Regions from separate parts of the Homo sapiens genome. Here regions 2, 3 and 4 are each linked to region 1. The links are contacts of gene promoters, found by promoter capture Hi-C in blood cells and fetal thymus (Javierre and others, 2016). All regions are on one chromosome and are shown on one strand. The core of a region is centred on a gene start or on the middle of the fragment in contact, and the rest is flanking DNA. Distances in the headings are between cores, read along the strand shown.

Region 1 (2,885 bases), core at 60-2,559:
TATTTTTAGTAGAGACGGAGTTTCACCATTTTAGCCAGGATGGTCTCGATCTCCTGACCTCGCGACCCACCTGTCTGGGCCTCCCAAAGTGCTAGGATTACAGGCGTGAGCCACCACACCCGACCCTGTGACCTTTATATAACTCTCCCTTCCCCAATCCTGGCAGCACCTTTGTATTTCCTATCTTATGAATTTGAGTGCTGCTCTGGTTTGAATGTTTGTCCCCTTCTCACATTCAGGTTGAAACTTAATTGCCATTGTAACAGTATCAAGAAGTGAGATTTCATTTATTTTTCATTTCTTCATTAAACATCTTTTCTGAGCCTCCAATTATGGGTCCGATGCTGAATATTCATTACTTTCGTTCAACAAAGCTACTAAGCACCTGACATAATAGTACATCCTGGGGACTTGGGGATGACATTCGTTCTGCTTTCATGGGGCTCCAATTATCTGACCCTGCCTTGCATGACAGCTGTCTACCTGTTTCCCCACTAGATTATAAACCCAGGGAAGAATTGGAAGAATTCACCTGTACACCCTCAGTACCCGAGCCCTGTGAGCATCCTAAGTATTTGATGATCACCACTCTTCTGCTTAGAACCCTGCAGTACTCTCCATTTCACTGACAGTAAATAGCCCAAATCCATACAATGACCTATGCAGATCACTAAGGTCTACCTTTCTCGTTTCCTCTGCACTCCGGGGTCTATTTGCTGTTCCTCAAACATACCCTTCAAGGCCTTTACATTCGCCGTTCTCTTTACCCTCAATGCTCTTCCCTAAGACACTCACAGACTACCTTCCTCTCCTCATTCATATTACTATCCAACATAACCTATTTTACTTGTTGTCGGAACCTCCTCCATCCCTTCAATGTAGGCAAGTGTTGTTTGCTTATAGATGCTTAATAAATACTTGCTGAGTTCATAAATCCTCCACTCCGCACCCCCACCCTAGGTTGGCAGAGGCCTCAGACCTTTGCTAGCCTAACTCCCACCTGATGGGTACCTACACTGCCGCTAAGTGATGGCACATCGAATTCAGCCTGAGAGCACCCCGCCTGCGGGTCTCTCCCGGCCCACAGGCTGAGCGTGCGAGTGGAAGCAGGAAGGGAAAGTATCAGGAAGGTGGAGTACCACAGGCCACATGACTGCTAAACGCTGCTTTCTCAACGTCCGCCCCACCCGCGAGGGAGGCGGACGTCCCAGGACAGACCCCGCAGCCCCCAGCCAGCCCCCTTAACCAGCGGACAGCGTACCTGATCCCCTCACCCCCACGCAGCGGCAGCGGCGCGCATCGGATCCCCCCCGCCCCCGGCCTCGCTTCCGCTTCGTAACTCCGCTCCGAATGGCATTCTGGAAATTGTAGTTTTTCACCTGCAGGGTGCTCGTGGGGCCGAGCCGGAGCGGAGGCTGCGGCTTCTACTCCCAGCCCTGGCGGTAGGGAGCTGCGTCCTGCTGTGGTGGTTGCCCACCTTCTCTGAACCCCTGTCTCCCCGTCTGCTGGACAGCTATTACAACCCCAACCCTTTACCAACTTCACAGGGCTCCTACAGGTGCTCTGTTGGTTGTCAAGGGCTGGACATTGCGAAACTGGGGTGTGTGAAGCAAAAAAATTCTAAGGCCCGCACCCGACTGAATGGACCTCCCTCTCTGCCGAAGGAAACCTTAAAAACTAGTTATGGCCATTACAGGAAGCGGGAGTGGAGCGGGGCGGTTGGACATGCACTGATATTATATCCCATCCCTTGCGGAGTTTAGGCCCAACGGGGACTGACACAACAGAATCTTTGTAGAACTAAAATATCAAATTCCAACCTGATATCATATTGTGTCCGGAAATGGTGGATTCTTGGTCTCACTGACTTCAAGAATGAAACCGCGGACCATCGCGGTGTTACAATTCTTAAAGACTGCGTGTCTGGAGTTTCTTCCTTCTGGCGGGTTCATGGTCTCGCTAGCTTCAGGAGTGAAGCTGCAGATCTTCGCAATGAGTGTTAAATCTCTTAAGAGGGCACACCTGGAGTTGTTCCTTCGCTCTCGGTGGGTTCGTGGTCACACGGGCCTCAAGAAAGAGCTGCAAATACAGATCTTCACGGCGAGTGTTATAGCTCACAAAGACAGTAGGGACCCAAAGGGTTAGCAAGCAACAAGATTTATTACAAAGAACAAAGCACCCACAGTCCAGAAAGGCAACCCCAACGGGTTGCCGCTGCTTGCTCGGGCAGCCTGTTTTTATTCTCCTATCTGGCCCCACCCACATCCTGCTGATTGGTCCACTTTACAGAGAGCCGATTGGTCTGTTTTACAGAGAGTTGATTGGTCCGTTTTGACAGGGTGCTGATTGGTGCGTTAACAATCCCTGAGCTAGACACAAAAGTTCTCCAAGTCCCCACTAGATTAGCTAGACACAGAGTGTTGATTGGTATATTTACAAACCCTGAGCTAGACACAGAGTGCTGATTGGTGCATTTACAAACCTTGAGCTAGATACAGAGTGCCGATTGGTGCATTCACAATCCCTTAGCTATACATAAAGATTCTCCAAGTCCCCACCAGATTAGCTAGACACAGAGTGCCGATTGGTGCATCCACAAACCCTGAGCTGGACACAGAGTGCTGATTGGTGCATTTACAAACCTTGAGCTAGATACAGAGTGCTCATTGGTGTATTTACAATCCCTTAGCTAAACATAAAGGTTCTCCAAGTCCCCACTGGACTCAGGAGCCCAGCTGGCTTCATCCAGTGGATCCAGCACTGGGGCCGCAGGTGAAGCTACCTGCCAGTCCCTCGCCGTGTGCCCACATTCCTCAGCCTTTGGGCGGTCGATGGGACCGGGTGCCGTGGAGCAGGGGTCAGTGCTCGTCTGGGAGGCTTGGGCC
Region 2 (3,128 bases), core at 489-2,988, 630 kb before region 1:
CAACACCACCCTGGGGCCTGAGAGAGAGCCTGGGCTTCACACCTGCCTGTCTCTTCTCCCACTGACAAGGTGACAAGCAGCACAAAATAAAGTAATGCTGCCTTAACTGTCCTAGTGAGGAAGAAGCTCCAGACTAGACACCACAAACTGGTAGCCCAAGTCTCAAGCCAGCATACATGTTCTATTTGGCCCCAGCAGAGTTGTGGGGTTTTTTTTCCCCGTTTTATGCTTTCTAATGCTTAAACATTGAGATATTTGACATTAAAATGTACTTTTCTATTTGTTCTTGAAACATTGGAAGACTTAGTACTATCAGGCCTGCACGTGGATATGGAACAGTGGCTCAACTAGAGATGCACGTAGTAGCTGCCCCCTTTAGGCAGGGCTTTCATTTTCCAGTTTGCCACAGGCCTCACCACTCCCTATTGCTTCACCTTATGTACACTGATTGTGGTAGGCAGAATAATGGCCCCTAAAGACGTCAATGTCCTAACACCTGGTACCTATGAAGACATTACCTTACATGGCAAAAGAGGATATTGTAGTTAATGATCTGGAGGTGGGAGATTATTCTAGATTGTATAGCCAGGGCCTAATGTAATCACAAGGGTCCTTATCGAAGGGAAACAGGAGTCAGAGAAAGAGATGTGGGGATGGAAGCAGAGGTCAGGTGATGCTGTCACAAGACAACAAATGCAAGCAGTTGGAAAAGGCAAGGGACAGGCTTCTCCCCCAGTGTCTCTAGAAGAAACTCGTCCCTGCCAACACCTTGATTTTAGTCCAAGGAGACACTTTGAGTTTCTGACCTCCACCACACTCGGCTAATTTTAAAATTTTTCTTAGAGATAGGGTCTCACCCATATTACCCAGGCTGGTCTCAAACTCCTGGGCTCAATGAATCCTCCCGACTCAGCCTCCCAAAGTGTTGGGATTACAGGCATCAGTCACTATGCCCAGCCTGATACACTTAATAAAGATTAGCACCAAGCTCTGTGGAAACAGAAGAGGCAGCCCTGAGTTCCTCCCCAGACTTCTTGGGAGAAGATGACCTTTCAGCCGAGCCTGTACCAGTTAGAGTTAGATTGGATGCATATGATGAAACAGTGGTTCTCAACTATGCCTGTGGATCAGCACCACCTGGGAGAGTCTTTGGAAACACCTGAGCAACACTCCACATTGCTAGGAGTCCCTGGGTGTTGTTCTGGGTTATCTGGTTTTGTTGTTGTTTTGTTTTGTGTTTAAGCTCTTCCATTGATTCCATTGTGTAGCCAGTTTTGAGAACTACTGACATCAGAGAAAACCCAAAATAAAAGTGGCTTAAACAAGAGAAGTGTACTTTTCTCTCACTTAAAAGAAGTCTAGAGACAGCTGTCCAGGTCTGGGGTAGGAGCTCTGCTCCATCTTCATCCCAGGACCAGAGGATTCTATTAAAGGGTCTTGAGGGAGAAGGAAGGGCGGTTGACACAATCCAGTTTGCAATTTGAAATGATCATTCTGGTTATAGTGTTTTATAGTGTGTGTCTCCTCCAGTTTCCAAGGAGGAAATAAGATTCCAAGTTATGTTACCAAGAACAGCAGGTGTTCATAATTACTTACGCTGGCAGCTGCTGGCACAAAGGGGTTCATTATAATGTCTATTTTTGTGTATATTTAAAATTTCTGGTAATAAAAAGTTAAAAAAAAAAAAAAGATTATGTTACCAAGTCAATAGCAAGTGTCCTCTGGGCTCAAACACTGTGTAATGAATCTGTTCTTTTATGACCTCATGATTGGGCCCGAGGGGTCCATGTCTTTCTCAGAATCCACGGTTAATTATTGAATAGCCCTCACCAAACCTAGTAGAGTTGGTGCAAAGGGCACTGGCAGGCTATCAGAGCCTGGGTGCTGGTTCCAGCCTTTCTGTGTGACCTTGAGCCACCACCTACCTCCCTCTGGGCCTCAGTCATCGCCACTGTAAAAAGAGGGGTATAGGAGGAGAAGGACACAAGGGCCTCTAGGAGACTGAAGCCCCAGAAAGTTGTAGTAAAGCTGTTACATAGTGTTCATTTGTTCATTGGCAGCAGAGTCCTTGGGCCACAAATGTTGGAGCCTAAATGCATGCTATTTGTTAAACCCAGTCAATTGACTTTCCCATCCTGTTATGGCTGGTTATGGGCCACTATAAGGCAATGGTTGAAGTACAAAGTATTGGCAGGGACCCAGTGTATCTTCATACACTTGCTGATGGAGCGAGCCTGAAATGCTGCCCTACCATCCATGACAGCAGGGCAGATCTGCCAAGGAGGGCGCAAAGGCTTTTTGGATCCACAGGGCTGATGCCTAGGTGACCAGAGTATGGGAGCTGCAGTGAGCGCTGATTACCCTTGCTTTCCACTTTGCCTCTCTGTCTCTAGCTAGTTCTTTCTGGTTCAAAGACAGTTTCCCCAGCACAGTCCCTTGTCAGGCCCAGCAGTGTCCACATCAGCAAGCATCTGCCACTCATCATTCCTTCTTTCACTCAGCTCCTGTTACTGCTGACCCACCTATGCCAGGCCCTGCCGTGTGGAGACAAATAAGACATCATACCTGTCCTCTGGCAACTCACAGACTGGGGAGGCAGACAGACATGGAGACTGGCATGTTTCCCTCACACAGTGTGAGAAAGAGAACCCAGAGAGTGGTGCCAAGAGAGCAGAGAAACAGGAAATGGGACAAAACAACTACACAAAGCCTGGGAAGGTCAGGGGAGGCTTCTTGGAGGAGCTGATGCTTGACCTGATTCTTGAAAGCTGAATCAAGGGGAGAAACAGCATTTCTGGAAGACAGAGCTGCATGTGCCAAAGGTCAGAAATGAGAGGGAGCCCTGTGGCTTTGGGTGCAGTAAGAACCTCCTCCTGGCTGGTGCCTGGGCTGTGATGGGATAAGTGGGGGCCATTGAGAGCCAAGTCTGGAGCCATAGATCATGCCAAGATCATGAAAGGCCTGAAGTGCCTTGCTAAGGAGTTTGGATGTATCCTGAGGAGGCACAGAAGTGACACAGGATGCTTCTCAGTCACTTTGCCAGCTGGGACCTCTGGTCAGCGATGTCCCCCTTGCCTGGGCCTCTCTGGGTCCCAGGCCTGCCGTTAGAGACACCCTACCCACTTGTC
Region 3 (2,816 bases), core at 67-2,566, 510 kb before region 1:
TATGATCTCGGCTCACTGCAACCTCCGCCTCCAGGGTTCAAGCAATTCTTCTGCCTCAGTCTCCTGAGTAACTGGGATTACAGGCACGCACCACCATGCCCGGCTAATTTTCGTATTTTTAGTAGAGACAGGGTTTTGCCATGTTGGCCAGACTGGTCTTGAACTCCTGACCTCAGGTGATCTGCCCACCTTGGCTTCCCAAAGTGCAGGGATTAAAGGCGTGAGCCACCCTGCCCAGCCTGCAGTAAGTTTTGAAGTCAGGTAGTGTGAGGCCTCCAGCTTTGTTCTTTTTGCTCAGAATTGTTTAGGCTATTCAGGGTCTTTTGAATTTCCATATAGATTTTAGGATTTTTTTTCCTATTTCTTGAAGAATGTCATTAGTATTTTGATAAGCATTGCATTGAATCTGTAAATTGCTTTGGGTAGTATTGTCATTTCAATACAGATTCTTCCAATCCATGAGCATGGAATATTTTGCCATTTTTTGGTGTCCTCTTCAATTTCTTTCATCAGTGTTTTATAGTTTTCCTTGTATAGATGTTTCAGTTCTTTGGCTAAATTGATTTCTGCGTATTTTATATTCTTTATAGCTATTGTAAACAGATTTCTCAATTTTTCTCAGATTATTCACTGTTGGCATATATAAATGCTACTGAATTTTGTATGCTGATTTTGTATCCTGCAACATTACTGAATTCATTTATCAGTTCTAACAGTTTTTTTGGTGGAGTCCTTAGGTTTTTCTAAATATAAGATCCTGTTGTCTGAGAGCAAGGCTAATCTGACTTCTTCCTTTCCAATTGGGATGCCCTTTATTTCTTTCTCTTGCCTACTTGCTCTGGCCAGGACTTCCAGTATTACGTTGAATAAAAGTGGTAAAAAATAGGCATCTTTGTCTTGTTCCAGATCTCAGAGGAAAGGCCTTCAATTTTTCCCTGTTCAGAACAATGTTGGCTATGGATTTGTTATATATGACCTTTATTATTTTGAGGTATATTCCTTCCATTCCCAGTTTGATGAAGGTCTTTATCATAAATGGATGTTGAATTTTATCAAATGCCTTTCTGGCATCTATTGAAATAGTCATATGTTTTTCATTCTTAGTTCTTGGTTCTGTGAATGTCATGTATTATGTTTATTGATTTGTGTATGTTGAACCATCCTTGCATACCGGGGATAAATCCCACTTGATCATGGTTAATGATCTCTTTAGTGTGTTGTAGAATTTGGTTTGCTAGTATTTTATTGGGAATTTTTGCATCTTGGTTCATCAGAAATATTGGCCTACAGTTTTCTTTTCTTGCTGTATCCTTGTCTGGTTTTGATATCAGGGTAATGCTGGCCTCATAGATAGAATGAGTTTGGAAGTATTCCTCCTCTATTTTTTTGAAGAGTTTGAGTAGAATTGGCATTAATTCTTCGGCTTTGTTTATTTTTGTTTTTTAAGAGACAGTCTCACTCTGTCACCCAGGCTGGAGTGCAGTAGTGTAATCTTACCTCACTGAAGCCTTGAACTCCTGGGCTCAAGTGATCCTCCCATCTCAACCTCCTAAGTACCTAGAACTACAGGCATGCACCACCGTACCCAGCTAATTTAAAAAATTTATTGTAGAGAATCTGAATGATCTTTCCATCACTGAGAGTGGGGTGTTAAAGTCCCCTACTATTATTGTATTGCAATCTATCTCTTGCTTTAGATTGCTTTTCATATTTGGGATCTCTGGTGTTGAGTGCCTACATATTTAAAATTGTTACATCTGCTTGAGAAACTGACCCCTTTATCATTATATAGTGACTTTCTTTGTCTCTTTTTACAATCTTTGACTGACTTGTAGTCTATTTATCTAACTATAGCTATAGCTACTTCTGCTTTTTTTTTTTTTTTTTTGGTTCCAGTTGTACGGACTCTTTTTTTACCCCTTCATTTTCAGTCTATCTTTACAGGTGGGTTTCTTGTAGGCAGCATATAGTTGGATCTCATTTCTATCCATTCAGCCACTCTCTTCCTTTTAATTGGAGAATTGAGTTCCTTTATATTTAGTACTATTATTGACAACTAAGGACTCACTACTGTCATTCTGTTGCTTGTTTTCTGATTGTTTTGTAACTCTTCTCTTCCTTTCTTCATTTCTTACTGCCTTACTTTGTGGTTCAGTGATCTTCTCTGGCAGTATGTTTTAATTTGTTTTTGTTGGTTTTTTTGGAGACAGAGTCTTGCTCTGTCTCCTAGGCTGGAGTACAGTGGTGCAATCTCAACTCATTGCAACCCCTGCCTCCCAGGTCCAAGTGATTCTCCTGCCTCAGCCTCCCAAGTACCTGGGATTACAGGCACCTGCCACCACATCTGGCTAATTTTTGTATTTTTAGTACAGACAGGGTTTTGCCATGTTGGCCAGGCTGGTCTTGAACTCCTGAGCTCAGGTGATCCACCCACCTCGGCCTCCCAAAGTGCTGGGATCACAAGTGTGAGCCACCACGCTCAGCCTAATTTGTCATTTTTTATTTTTAGTGAACTCACTATAGGGTTTGCATTGTGATTACCATGCGGTTTACAAAAAAAAAACTTATAGATGTAACATTATTTTAAAGAGAAGATATCTTATTTTAGATCACATAGAATAGAAACAAAGAAAAAATGAAAATAAAAGTTTACATTGTAACTCCATCGCCTCCACATTTTGACTGTTAGTTGTTTCAATTTACATATTTTTATATTACCTGTCTCTTAACAGGTTGTTGTAGCTATTATTGTTTTTGACAGATTTATATTTTGGGTTTCATACTAGAGTTATAAGTGCATTTCATACCACAATTAC
Region 4 (3,195 bases), core at 356-2,855, 580 kb before region 1:
CCAGGTTCCGCCTGGGTTAACAATGGCATGATTTCATTAATTTGCTTGTTTATTTATTCCACACAAACTCTTTTCTAGGGCCCATGCTAGGTTCTGTGGCCCCAAAGCTGAATTAGACACTTTCTCTCGAGGGACTGGACATGTCTGTGGATGCCTCCTGTCCATCGTTTTACAGCATTCTGTGGAGTGCTACTTGACGAGCTACTGGGTATTCCACGGGGAAAGTGGTCCAGGGTTAGCTAAGCATGGAAAGCGCCTAGTTAAACAAAGTTACTTCACTGCAGGACTTCTCAGAGCCGTTGCTATGCTAATGTGTATTACACATTAAATGACCTCAAAGTGTCTGGGCCTCTCTGGGGTTCCTGATGGGCCTGTATGTCCTGACCTGTACTGGGGCTGGTGAGTAGATGTGGGATCCCCTAGAGGTGTGGCAGGGCCAGGGACCTGCTGCGCTTAGGCTTGGAGGGGTCTTCTTCCCCTGGGACCTTCAGGATCTGCAGTGAGACACTGAGGGGACAGTCCTCAAGGGGTGGATTTCACTTTCTGTGGCAGTAAGAGAGCTCAAAGGGTTTAATGCAGAGGTCCCCTGGTTCCATTTGCATTTGAGAAATATGACCGTGCTGGGGACGGGGAGGAGGGATCCACATCGGAGAATGGAGAACTGTCAGTGTCCCGTGCAACAGGAATGCTGAAACCTACTCCCATGCCAGTTTCTGTTTCTGGATTTTATTACCAAGAAAGGGTGAGAAAGCAATTTCTGTATTCAAACAGGGCTTGATCTCTTTCCTACAGCACATAAGCCACTGATCCACCAAGGAGCTTGAGGAAGCCTCAGACAGAAGGCCTTAGTTACGTTAACTGCTGCTTTTACAACCGAGGCTGGCTCTGACTTCTATGAATAAAATTTAGAGGTTCAGGACAGATCTGAAAACCAATCTCTCCCTTTTTCTCTTCTCAACTCTCCCCACTCATTGTCTGAGGCTGGCGCGCGTGCTCTTTTCTCTTTCTCTCTCCCCACCCCCTTTCTTGCTATCCTGCTGGCTCTCTCTCCTTCTGCCATCTATGAAGTCAGTCCAGTTTGGGACTCGATATCTCTTTGTTCTGGAAATCCCCACAGCAAAAGGAGAATGAATTGCCCTTGGTCCAGGATAATCTTTTGCCGAATTAAGATGGAAGCACATTCATGAAAAACCACAACACAAAACAAAACAAAAAATCCCAACTTCCCTGAAAACATAATTCACAGAGATCATGTCCAAGAATAACTTCTTGAACTAATCAAAACTGATTCCAAAATTGCCTCCGAAGTATCTCTGATGGCTACGTTCAGTTCAGTTTCAGATACAGGGGTCTTACGTCCACAGTGGAAAGGGTGAGAAAGTCTCACTTTCTTGATAAACCAAGTCATATTTAAGAAAGGCCTGGGAATATGAAAGTTTACTTTAGAAGAATCAGAAAAAGCTGGACGCAAGGCAGGGGCAGCATTTTAAAATGTCTATGTGAATCCCCCACAGCGCGTGCCGCACCATTGATGTATTCACGCGGAGCTCTCATTCATTTAATCCTCCTCATTACCTATGTTCTGTGGTCCGGGGAAGTCAAGCACTTTCCCGAGGCCACACAGGCAAGAAAGGACAGCTCTGGAGTGAAATGCTGGTGTACCAGGTTTAGGCCAGTCCATGCTGTGTCTGGGATGGATCTCGAAGGGTCTGTGCATCTGGGGGATAGCAGGAGAGAGAGGTTTTCGATTTGCTGGAGCAGCAGGAGGCGCCTGCTGGCCTGTCTCTGTGACAGAAGGGAACGGGACTCTCCCCACAGACGGGCCTTGGGGATTTCTCCCCCTCACTCTGTCCTCAGTCCCTCCCTTTGGCAGCCCTGGGTCTGTCAGTTTGCAGGGGATACACCAGCCAGCAATCCCAAGTCATGCTCCCAGGCCAGGAAAAACATAACAGGAAACCTCCTCCCGGTCTACAGGACAGGTTCCCCAGACTTCAGCAGACCCACGGAAATCTGCTTGCATGGATCTGTAGTACGCAATGACAGCCTGCTTGGCCATAAGATTCAAGGCTCACATTTCTCAGGTGACTGGAGGGGGTTCTAACTCATGGGGGACTCTGGCTTCCATCTGGCCAAGACTACAAAGAGCATCTCTTCCCATGTTGATGTGGCTGCCTCTTGCTTTGAGTCTCATCCTGTCTTTGGTCTGTATGCGAAAGGCAGGTTTGAGCCTGCAGGAACAGCAAACAGGAATCCTTTCTCTTCTTCGGGGTTTAAACAATTACCGATCCCACCCAAAAACAGACTTGGAGCTGTCCCTAACCTTCCTACAACAGAGACAAAGGAAATAGATTGCCTTTGTATACATTAAAACATGGAGTCTAGAACAATGGAGGTCAAGGCTCCACCTTGGCCACAGCTAGGATGTCCTGATCCAAGTAAAACCAGCACCAAATGTATCCTCATGGCTGGTGGGTAATTGTTTAAACAGGAGCCATGCTGCTAAAACACCTGCTCACCCAAGCAGTTTCCAAGGTCACAGCTACTATACTTTTGTGATTATTTATCTAATCCCACCTTTCCCAAAGCATCTTTCCCTATAGGATGTTAGTAGGTGTTGTATGGGGAGAAAGGTTTCTACAGTAAAATAAAGTTGGGGGAATAGCTGTATTCAAGAAAATTAATTAGGTTTAACTTAAAGGCTTTTCAGAGCCTTTAATATGCTAATGTGCTTTATGCATCTCTAATGGGGGAGTAGGCAGTATCCTCCCCCCACCCCGCCCCAAATTGTTGACCATAAATCCGTTTTTACTCCAGAACACCTCAGGGGACAAGGGCTTCGTGAAGTACATTGTTGGAAAGTAGTTCTTATTTTATACCCTGGCTATACTTTTCTCAGGATTGGTACTAACCACAGAATGGAAAAGGAGGACATTAGAGAATGAGGCTGAAGGGAGCATGGTGGCTGGACACCTCCAGACAGCTGAGAGGTTCCTAATGGCCAGGGCAGGAAGGGAGACACTGGGCCACCCTCACAGCTATTGTTTTGTGTTTCTTGAGATGTTTTCACCCCAGCTCCTTCTTCTGCCCCTAACCTGAGTTGCATATCACTTAATATTAGATTTGGTTGCAAATAGAGCCTCCATAATAGTGGCTAAACCAAGATAAAGGTATATTTTTCTCTCACATAAAAGTGTG

Evidence for each region. The method cuts DNA at HindIII sites, captures the fragments that hold promoters and counts their contacts. A CHiCAGO score of 5 or more calls a contact.
Region 2: a fragment that was not itself captured here is called in contact with the fragment with the promoter of TRMT10B in region 1 in 2 of 17 cell types (endothelial precursors and M0 macrophages); the score reaches 7.8 in endothelial precursors.
Region 3: a contact is called between a fragment that was not itself captured here and the fragment with the promoter of TRMT10B in region 1, in 2 of 17 cell types (M0 macrophages and M2 macrophages). The highest score is 6.3, in M0 macrophages.
Region 4: a contact is called between a fragment that was not itself captured here and the fragment with the promoter of TRMT10B in region 1, in 1 of 17 cell types (M2 macrophages). The highest score is 5.8, in M2 macrophages.

What each region holds. Positions count from the first base shown.
Region 1 is chr9:37,752,229-37,755,113 of GRCh38, reverse strand. It overlaps TRMT10B (tRNA methyltransferase 10B), which reads right to left and starts at 1,309. Exons shown (of 9, transcript NM_144964.4): 1 at 1,262-1,309. RefSeq lists a silencer at 1,165-1,399. The HindIII fragment of the contact is 5,639 bases long and covers 1-2,885 here.
Region 2 is chr9:38,385,265-38,388,392 of GRCh38, reverse strand. No RefSeq gene overlaps it. Among named protein-coding and RNA genes, the nearest start is that of ALDH1B1, 5.9 kb to the left of the region's middle. The HindIII fragment of the contact is 5,209 bases long and covers 1-3,128 here.
Region 3 is chr9:38,264,952-38,267,767 of GRCh38, reverse strand. No RefSeq gene overlaps it. Among named protein-coding and RNA genes, the nearest start is that of ALDH1B1, 130 kb to the left of the region's middle. The HindIII fragment of the contact is 4,197 bases long and covers 1-2,816 here.
Region 4 is chr9:38,335,157-38,338,351 of GRCh38, reverse strand. All of the region lies in intron 1 of LOC107987065 (a long non-coding RNA gene), which reads right to left. Among named protein-coding and RNA genes, the nearest start is that of ALDH1B1, 56 kb to the left of the region's middle. The HindIII fragment of the contact is 4,341 bases long and covers 1-3,195 here.